Regions from separate parts of the Homo sapiens genome. Here region 1 is linked to region 2. Evidence: promoter capture Hi-C in human tissues and cell types (Jung and others, 2019). All regions are on one chromosome and are shown on one strand. The core of a region is centred on a gene start or on the middle of the fragment in contact, and the rest is flanking DNA. Distances in the headings are between cores, read along the strand shown. Region 1 overlaps UBXN2A (UBX domain protein 2A). Region 2 holds the start of ITSN2 (intersectin 2).

The links. The method cuts DNA at HindIII sites, captures the fragments that hold promoters and counts their contacts. A contact is called where the count stands out against the background at its distance.
Region 1: a contact is called between a fragment that was not itself captured here and the fragment with the promoter of ITSN2 in region 2, in 2 of the 25 tissues and cell types used here (lymphoblastoid cells and mesenchymal stem cells).

The regions. Positions count from the first base shown.
Region 1 is chr2:23,991,053-23,995,876 of GRCh38, reverse strand. The region is part of intron 6 of UBXN2A (UBX domain protein 2A); the gene reads right to left. Among named protein-coding and RNA genes, the nearest start is that of MFSD2B, 17 kb to the left of the region's middle. The HindIII fragment of the contact is 5,804 bases long and covers 1-4,824 here.
Region 2 is chr2:24,357,178-24,362,090 of GRCh38, reverse strand. ITSN2 (intersectin 2) reads left to right here and starts at 1,555. Exons shown (of 40, transcript NM_006277.3): 1 at 1,555-1,787. RefSeq lists an enhancer at 1,122-1,271 and silencers at 1,372-1,671, 1,682-1,731, 1,742-2,141. The HindIII fragment of the contact is 6,107 bases long and covers 1-2,976 here.

The DNA.
Region 1 (4,824 bases), core at 1,648-4,147, 370 kb after region 2:
AGGATTTTGTTTTGATCATTGATGAAATGGCTTTTATTGAAGTAGTGCTCCTAAAAATATTGCTATAAAAGCTGGACAATATACAGACTTAAAATGCTTTGACGTAACTATTTTTCAACTTTACAATGGGTTCATCAGGGTATTAAATGCATTTTCTTTTTTTTTTCTTTTCTTTTTTTTTTTTGAGACAGAGTCTTGCTCTGTCGCCCAGGCTGGAGTGCAGTGGCGTGATCTTGGCTCACTGCAAGCTCCGCCCCCTGGGTTCACACCATTCTCCTGCCTCAGCCTCCCGAGTAGCTGGGACTACAGACGCCCGCTACCACGCCTGGCTAATTTTTTTTGTATTTTTAGTAGATCCGGGGTTTCACCATGTTAGCCAGGATGGTCTCGATCTCCTGACCTCGTGATCCGCCCGCCTCAGCCTCCCAAAGTGCTGGGTAAATGCATTTTCAACGTGGATGGGCTTATTGGGACATTACATCATAAGTCAAGGAGCGTCTAAACATAAAAGCGCTATGTGAAAGCACTGAAGACCAACCAATGTAAATCATCTGAGAGCCCTGTAGGAAGGAAATGCACAAGGTGAGCTCCACATTTACACTGGTTTTTTCACTGAGGGCACTTTCCAATTTGTAGCAGTGAATTAGAGGGAAAAAAAAAAGCCATTTCACTACACCAAGGAGAGACAAGAAGCTGGGATTTATAAGCCAAAATCCTGAAACAGAGGGACCCATAAAGAAACGTGACCAGAAAACCGTAACAAATTCTTAAGTTATTGGCTAACTCCTCAGCTATTAGTAGAATGAGAATTCAAAGAACCCAACAGAAAACAGCGACTGAGGAGAGATTCTAGCAGCTCCAAAATGCTGGGCACACAGACTCTAGAGTTTAAGCTCTGCCAATGTGGAGGAGTCTTGGTAAACACCCAGGTTTTCACCACTTCTAAGGGTCAGACCCTAAGGTTCAAGTCCATGCTCTAAAAGCAAAACAGATAACCAACCAGCCCCAGTAAAGTCTACAGTCAATCCAACTAACTCTTAATAAAATCAACATAATCCATTAGGAATCTGTCTGATAGAAGCATAGGTATCTTTGGAGGAAGATGATGTCATCTGAAACGTCTACAATGTTTCCATAAACAAGGTCTAATGACCAGATGAATTATAAGGTATGCTAAAATCCAGAAGAAGCAACAGATAAAATAAAAAGATGAGGAATTTCACCAGACACCTGAAAAATAACAGACTCAAATGAAAAGTCTACAAGTGACAGTAGAATTGAAAGTAAGAATTCCAACACATGTATTTAACAGACCAGACCAATACAACAGATTACTGAACTCGAAGACAGGTCAAATAGAAAATATGCAGACTGAATCAGAAGGAAAAAGAAGAAAAAAATTAGAAAAGAATATAAGATACACTGAAAACATCTAACATACATGTAAATAAAGCCACAAATGCCAAAGACAAAAGAGAATAAAATACGAGAACATTTCCATCAATACTGGCCAAGAAACTCCCCAAACTGACAAAAAACCTTAACTATGGATCCAAGAAACTCAGCAAATTCTAAGCAATATAATGCAAAGATAACTAACACCTAGGCACATCATATTCAAGCTATTAAAATCTAAGAACAAAGAGAAAAATTTTAAACTGAGAGGAAAAAAGACTTAATATCTTTCAAAAGAGCAAGAAAAAGGCTGACAGCTGATTTTTGAGTAGGAGAGTGGAAGCTGGAAGACAACATATGGGCATTCTTAAGAGCTGATGTGCTAGAAAAACCTGACAGTTCTAGCCTAGTGAAAATGGTCTTTAAAAATGAAGATGTGTTCAAATCAAAGCTAAGAGAATTCATCATTAGTAGATAAGCAATTAAAGAGATACTAAAGGCAGGGCTCGGTGACTCACGCCTGTAATCCCAGCACTTTGGGAAGCCGAGGCGGACCACAAGGTCAGGAGTTGGAGACCAGCCTGGCCAACATGGTGAAACCCTGTCTCTACCAAAAAAATACAAAAATTAGCTGGGTGTGGTAGCGCATGCCTGTAATGCCAGCTACTTGGGAAGCTGAGACAGGAGAATTGCTTGAACCAGGGAGGCAGAGGTCGCAGTGTGCTGAGATCACTCCGCTGCGCTCCAACCAGGTGACAGAGCAAGACTCTGTCTTGAAAAAAAAAAAAAATTAAAAAATTAAAAAAATTTAAGAGATACTAAGCATAATTGTTCAGGCTAAAACATCAAACTGGGTAAAAAACAGAAAAAGTAAAATGATATATAAGTGAATATTGTTTACAAGTAATAGCATTTTGAGGGTTGTTAAAATGTTCGTAGAAGTAACATATTTGTTGACAAAAATAGCAAAAAGGAAGAGAGTAACAGAGTGAAATTGTTGGCCAGGGGCAGTGGCTCAAGCCTATAATCCCAGCAGGTGAGACCCTGTCTCTACCAAAATATATTATATATTTAAAACAGAAAAGAAAAAGCCTGATTAATCATTACTAAATAAATGCTGTTGGCCAAAAATTTTTAAACGCTTCAGTCATTTAGGGGGAAAAAAAGCTACGTGTTTCATTGTTATTCACCTAGATAAACAAGTCAAGATTAAAATTTATTTCCCTGAAGATAAACAAATAAGCTTGGGCCAGAATAACAAATCCCCATTCCCATTTCTACATCTTTAGTTTGCTCTCCTCTTCATTTGGAAGGAATTTAGGTCACAAAAGAACATTCCAGGACACAATTTCAAACTTGTGCTTCTTCTATTATTATGATAATCAGTTGTGTGATTCCAGCTGTCTAGAATGGTTTTGACAGAAATAAAAGTGAAATGCCTTCAAGAGAGCCAAACACATAGAAAGCACCAGGTAGATGGTAGCTAAAGAAATCCACAAAACAGAAACCTCCTTGCAGAGTAAAACAGGAGGAAAAAACCCCACAAAACCAGAAACTAATACTGTTAGCCTAGATTTAAAAACAAAACTCAACTATTTACAAGAGATAGTTTTAAATACACACACAGATAAATATATACAGATACGTTGAAATTAAAAGTAAGTAGAAAAATATACCAGGCAAATACTAATTAGAAGGAAGCTGTTATGACCATATTAATATCAGGCAGAGTAGATTTAACACAAAAAGCATTACCAAGGATTGAGAGAGACATGTGACAGTGCTAAAAAGGTTGACAGGGTTCAAGATATGCTACCCTAAAATATGGCACCTTGGCATTTGAGGAAACAGCAGAAACAGGTAGATCAGTCTCATTCTCCCCTTGCCCTTCTCCCCTCAAAGCAGACCAAAAAAGAAATTATCTGTCCTTCCTCTGAAGTAGGTCATAAAACCTTCCTTTCCGAGGTATTGTTCGTATACCCAGAGGAAAGGAACAACCTTATCCTTGAAGATGCAGAGATGCCACGAAGAATCTGAACGAACAGGCTAAGCTAAGTTCCCCTTAATTTATTACCATTAGATCATACCCCTTTTGCCCTCCAATCATACTTCTCCACAAACTATCCACTTCCTCATCAAACTTAGGCCAGGAGTTCAAGACCAGCCTGGCCAACATGGCGAAACCCTGTCTCTACTAAAAATACCAAAATTAGGCTGGGCGCGGTGGCTCATGCCTGTAATCCCAGCACTTTGGGAGGCCGAGGCAGGAGGATCATGAGGTCAGGAGATCAAGACCAGCCTGGCCAACATGGTGAAACCCCATCTCTACTAAAAATACAAAAATTAGCTGGGCATGGTGGCACACACCTGTAGTCCCAGCTACTCGGGAGGCTGAGGCAGGAGAATCGCATGAACCAGGGAGGCGGAGGTTGCAGTGAGCTGAGATTGCGCCACTGCATTCCAGCCTGGCGACAGAGCAAGACTCCATCTCAAAAAACAAAACAAAACAAAAAACCCCAAAAATTAGCCAGGCGTGGTGGCAGGTGCCTATAATCCCAGCTACTTGGGAGGCTGAGGGACGAGAATTGCTTGAACCCAGGAGGCAGAGGTTTCAATGAGCCAAGATCATGCCACTGCACTCCAGCCTAGGCAACAGAGTTGAGACTGTCTCAAAAAAACAAAACAAAACAAACAAACAAAAAACAAAAAAGGCCGGGCACTGTGGCTCACGCCTGTAATCCCAGCACTTTGGGAGGCCAAGGTGAGCGGACCACCTGAGATCAGCAGTTCGAGACCAGACTGGCCAACATGGCAAACCCTTTCTCTACTAAAAATACAAAAAAAATTAGCCAGGTGTGGTGATAGGCGCCTGTGATCCCAGTTACTCAGGAGTCTGGGGCAGGGAGAATTGCTTGAACCTGGGAGGCAGAAGTTGCAGTGAGCCGAGATCACACCACTGCACTCCAGCCTAGGCAACAGAGAGAGACTCCATCTCAAAAACAAAACAAAACAAAAAAGACAGAAAAAAATATAATATATATATATGTATATGTGTGTGTGTGTGTGTGTGTGTGTATAAAATAAAATATAAAATCACATGCATTTCTTTTGTTAATCTGTCTTTTGTTAAAGGGGTCTCAGCCATGAATCTAGGCAATGGGCGAAGAAAATCTTTTCTCCCCAACAAAGTCAATTAATCAGAAAAACACAATTTCATCTCTGCTGGACCCAATTATATAACTTTAAAATATATAAAGCAAACATTGACAGAAGTAAATAAGAAATAGACAAATCCATAATCATAGTTGGAGATTTTAGCACAACTTTCTTGGTAACTAATAAAATAAGCAGAAAAAACGGAAGAAAAACACAATTTTTTAATGATTCAGTCCAAAAGCCACCAAGCCATTAGTAGGACAGAACATGGGA
Region 2 (4,913 bases), core at 306-2,805:
CACTTTGGGAGGATGAGGCGGGTGGATCACCTGAGGTCAGGAGTTTGAGACCAGCCTGGCCAACATGGTGAAACCAGTGTCTACTAAAAATACAAAAATTAGCCGGGCGTGGTGGCAAGTGCCTGTAATCCCAGGTACTTGGAAGGCTGAGGCAGGAGAATTGCTTGAACCTGGGAGGCGGAGGTTGCAGTGAGCACAGATCTCACAGTTGCGCCACTGCACTCCAGCCTGGGCAACGGAGTGAGAGTCTGTCTCAGGAAAAAAAAAAAAAAAAAAAAAAAAAAAAAAAGAAATCTTGGGTCTTATATCCAAAAATCTTGAGTCTTACATTTGGTTACTTTTTTTTTTTTGAGACAGAGTTTCGCTCTTGTCGCCCAGGCTGGAGTACAGTGGTGCAATCTCTGCTCACTGCAACCTCCGCCTCCCAGGTTCAAGCGATTCTCCTGCCTCAGCCTTCCGAGTAGCTGGGACTACAGGCGCCCGCCACCACGCCCAGCTAATTTTTGTATTGTTAGAAGAGGCGGGGTTTCACCATGTTGGCCAGGCTGGTCTCCAACTCCTGACCTCAGATGATCCACCTGCCTCGGCCTCCCAAAGTGCCGGGGTTACAAGCGTGAGCCACTGTGCCAGGCCGACATTTGGTTACGTTCATTAGGAAACACTAACTCCTCCCTCACCCCAATCAAAAGAAAGCCTTTCCCCTTGAAGAAGCTTCTTGTCAAGGGCAAACCTTTGGGGTTTTGGGATACGGTGGCGGCTTGAGTTGAAGTCTGGTCTTTTGTGAGGAGACCAGGAACCGGGAGGGGAGAAAAGAGACAAATTCTGAGTAGGAGCTTCGCCTGTCCCTTGGCGAGGGGTGGGGAGGAAAGTTTAGCTTCGTCGTGCTATGCTCTATGGGGACAGAGTCTTCCTACTGCTCGGCGGAGTGTGACTAGCGTAGAGGGTGCTCCTCGTGGGCGCTCCGCGTGTGTTATGGAGGAGGGCGAGGAATGGTGAATGGATGACCGAGGGTATGGTTAAGTCCTCCAGGTCCCTGAGAAGGGTTCAAGAGGCCTGTAACAGACCCATGGGCAAGGGTGGGATCAACCTCCTTCCCACCTTCCACCCCCCAATTCCCAGAGAATTCGTTCCCCCAGATCAGTGGAGAAAACTTCGGCGAGTGAGAAGGTTCCAGGGAGAACCCCGTGGTGGGTGCAACAGGGATGTGGCAGGCACTGCTTGGGACTTTCCAAAACCCCGGCGTCTGCCGTGGCAGGAAAAGCACCACCCAAGCTCAGCATGTTACCTCGGGGAGGAGGAGCCAGGTGGGTCTGTGCAACTCCAGGAAGGGCTGCCAGGTCTGGGGCTTCGGGGCCTCCCCGAGGGCAGAGAGGAGCGCTTCGGACCCGACCGACTCGGAGCAGACCTTCAGGGTTCAATGCCCCGGAACTCCTGGGGCGAGGAGCCACGCCCGGGCAGTTTCGGGCTCCGGAGGGTGGGGAGTCGGTGCCCGGCAGCGGGCGGGCCGTCAGCTGCCCGGCCCGGCGCCTACCTCCCCGCCCCCCGGCTTCCTGCGGAGGCCGCGGCCGCCATGTTGTTGTGGGGCTGAGGCGGCGCCGGCGGAGCCCTGAGCGGCTGTGACAGGCTACGCAACAGGTTCGCGGGCGGCGGCCTGACGACCAAGCCAGCTGCAGTGGCGGCGACGGCGGCAGAGCAGGGTCTCCCCGCGCCTGCCCGCGCCCAGGCTGCCGGTGCTGAGGGACGCGGAGTCGCGCTGTGACGAGCGGGAGGCGCGGCGAGGGCGCCAGGTGGGTGAAGCCGCTAGCGGGGCTGCAGCAAGGCGCGGGGCAGGTGCGGGCGCCGCGCCCGCTGCCCGGAGGCTCTGCGGGTCGGGCTGAGGCGGCTGTGCGCTCCGCACGATGGGGACGGGTCCTCGGGAGTACGGGCGGCCCCCGAGCTAGGCCCCTGGCGGGCTCGGCCGTGCGGGGCGGAAACCTCCGGCCCCGGGTTCCTTCCTCTGCTGCCGGGCCGGGACAGACGCCGAGGGGGCCTGGGCTGGGCTGCCCCTTCCTTGCGGCCGAGCCCGGGTCCCTGGCCGCGGCCTCGTCTGGCAGGTGGCGGACGCCGGCGAGGGTCGGGGGTGGCGTGGCCCCCTCGCTTTCGGGGTGTGAGCAGAAGAGAGCTCTGGGGGCACCCGCACGCCTCCTCGGGGACCCATTTTATTTTCGCGGAGTTGGTTTTCCTTCCTGGCAAGGGTTGGTGCCGAATGTCAGGTGAGCCGCATCCCGGTGCGTCAAAGTAGCCCGAGTCACGAGAGGACAGTGGGCGGATGCTTGGCGTCTACCGCTCGCGTTCCTCCGGAGTTGGAAATGTTAAATTTACCTTCAGCGTTATTGACTTCCAGAATATACAGGAAGCACCGAGAGATGTAATCTCTCAGGCCAGATAAAGTTTATTTGTGTATTTATTTATTTATTTTTAAAGACGTCTGCATATGCATAGTGAGTGGGTAAACCGAGGCTGAAACTGCAGATGGCTTTGTATTCTATAGAAAGATGCTCCGTTTGGATTTATTAATTATGCGCCTTGTCGCTCTAGAATTACCAATGGCAAGTGTGCTTTATTTGAAACTTGTGTTAATACTGAAATAGGAATATTTTTTGATGGAGCCAACCCCTTTACGATAGGAATTAAGGTTAGCATAGAAATGACTTGCTTTGCTCCATGCTTCTAGTTTGTCTCACTAGTGTTTGCTTGCTTACTCAGAAATAGGCAAGGTGTGACTTGAAATTTTACGTTGTTAGTGAGCTCAGTTTAGGTAGCATAGCTCTTGTAGTTTAAAGCTTCTTAAGCGTTTCGAAAAATTGCCTCTCTCCCTGTGCTGGTTTGCTATATTGTTAATCAGTGATAAAACCTAAAAGCTACCTAGAAACATCGCATAAAACATTTACGCGAATTAATAATGACGTCCTTCCAAATTTAAAGATACTGACAACTCTGATGTGTTTTCCTTTAGCTTTTTTTGGCTGTGCCTGTGACTCTCTTGTAATTTCAAAAGTAAATAAAGTGGATGTATTTTATGTTTTTGAAAACGTGGAAAAAATGTGCATTGCTGCTATTTTGATGTAATATTAATAAGCAGTTGAAAAGCTTGCATTTTTTCACCCTTCCATGCATTGATAACTATTCCCTGTGCCCACCTTTGTAATGAAAGGTAAACTCGTCCAAGAAAACTTGACCTGTACAGAATTACTAAGCAGGGAGTTACCATTGTTCGGTACATCTCAAGGCTAAAATCTTGATCTCTCCTGAATATGAGGAGGTGTGTTAGGCATGTTTTGGGGATTGGATTAATAGTGTTAAAAAATTTGTATTTTCACAAAAATAGCATGTACCCATCACCCAAACTCAGCAGCTTTCAAGAAGCTTTTCTTTTTTTCTTTCTTATTTTAAAAAATCCTTTAACCTTATGTAGTTAGTATATCTTTTTTAAAAAGTAGAAAATCATGTAACCTTAGGATTTTTAGTTTTAATGTAGAGTTTCACAAATTTCCATCTTTAGTAAGACAAAAGGGTCACATATTGGCTGTCTCCTTCAACTATACTTTCTTCAGTATAAAATATGTTTACCATGGTTGTCATTTATCGAGCACGTAACTGCATGTTAGACTCTATGCTAAGTGTTTTACATAATCATTTAAAGCTCACTAAGGCCCTAGGAGTAATTATTATCTTCCCATCAAAAAGGTAAGTGAAATGTTAACCTGAAGTTTGACTACTTTAGGTCTCTGAGCTAGTAAGTACAATAGCCAGGTTTCAAACCAAGATCCTTTTAACTGCAGCACCTGTGCCTTATCTGGTAGAGTCATCTTGGTTCATACATTTAAAAAAGAGTTATCTATGTGCCGGGTGCCCTGGCTCATGCCTGTAATCCCAGCACTTTGGGAGGCCGAGGAGGGCGGATCACCAGGTCAGGAGTTTGAGACTGACCAATAAGGTGAAATCCTGTCTCTACTAAAAAATACAAAAAATTAGCCTGGCATGGTGGCGTGCGCCTGTAGTCCCAGGTACTCAGGAGGCTGAGGCAGGAGAATCGTTGAACCCGGGAGGCGGAGGTTGCAGTGAACCGAGATCGCACCACTGCACTCCAGCCTAGGCGACAGAGTGAGACTCCGTCTCAAACAAAAAAAAGAAAAAAAAAGTTATATGGGCATTCAGTAAAAAATATGTGTTTAGTGAATGAGTGAAAGTACATATTAGTCCATTAAGTAGCATTTTTACATATTGTATTTACTTGTAAAACATTTATATTAACAAGTTCCAGAAATGATTCAGAATAAACGAGTTACATTACCAAAAATGTGATATATTTATTACCATCTAACGGTGCATTTTCTTTTTCTTTTTTTGGATTCAAGTTTTTTTAGTACCTTTTTTATTTATGGAAAAAATTTGTGAAAAAACTGTTTTTGAAGAAAGGCAGACTTTCTTGTGTGCCGATTTTTTTTTATTTCTTACAAAAAAAACAGGATATATGTGCAGAACGTACAGGTTTGTTACATAGGTATACGTGCACCGTGGTGGTTTGCTGCACCTATTCACCCGTCCTCTAAGTCCCCTTCCCTCATTGCCCCCCCACAACAGGTCCTGGTGTGTGTTGTTCCCCTCTGTGTCCATGTGTTCTCAATGTTCAACTCCCACTTATGAGTGAGAACATAGGGTGTTTGATTTTCTGTTCCTGTGTTAGTTTGCTGAGGATGATGGCTTCCAGTTTCGTCCATGTCCCTGCAAAGGACATGATCTCATTCCTTTTTATGGCTGCATAGTATTCCATGGTGTATGTATATCACATTTTCTTTATCCAGTCTATCATTGACGGGCATTTGGGTTGGTTTGGTGTCTTTGCTATTGTAAATAGTGCTGTAGTAAACATA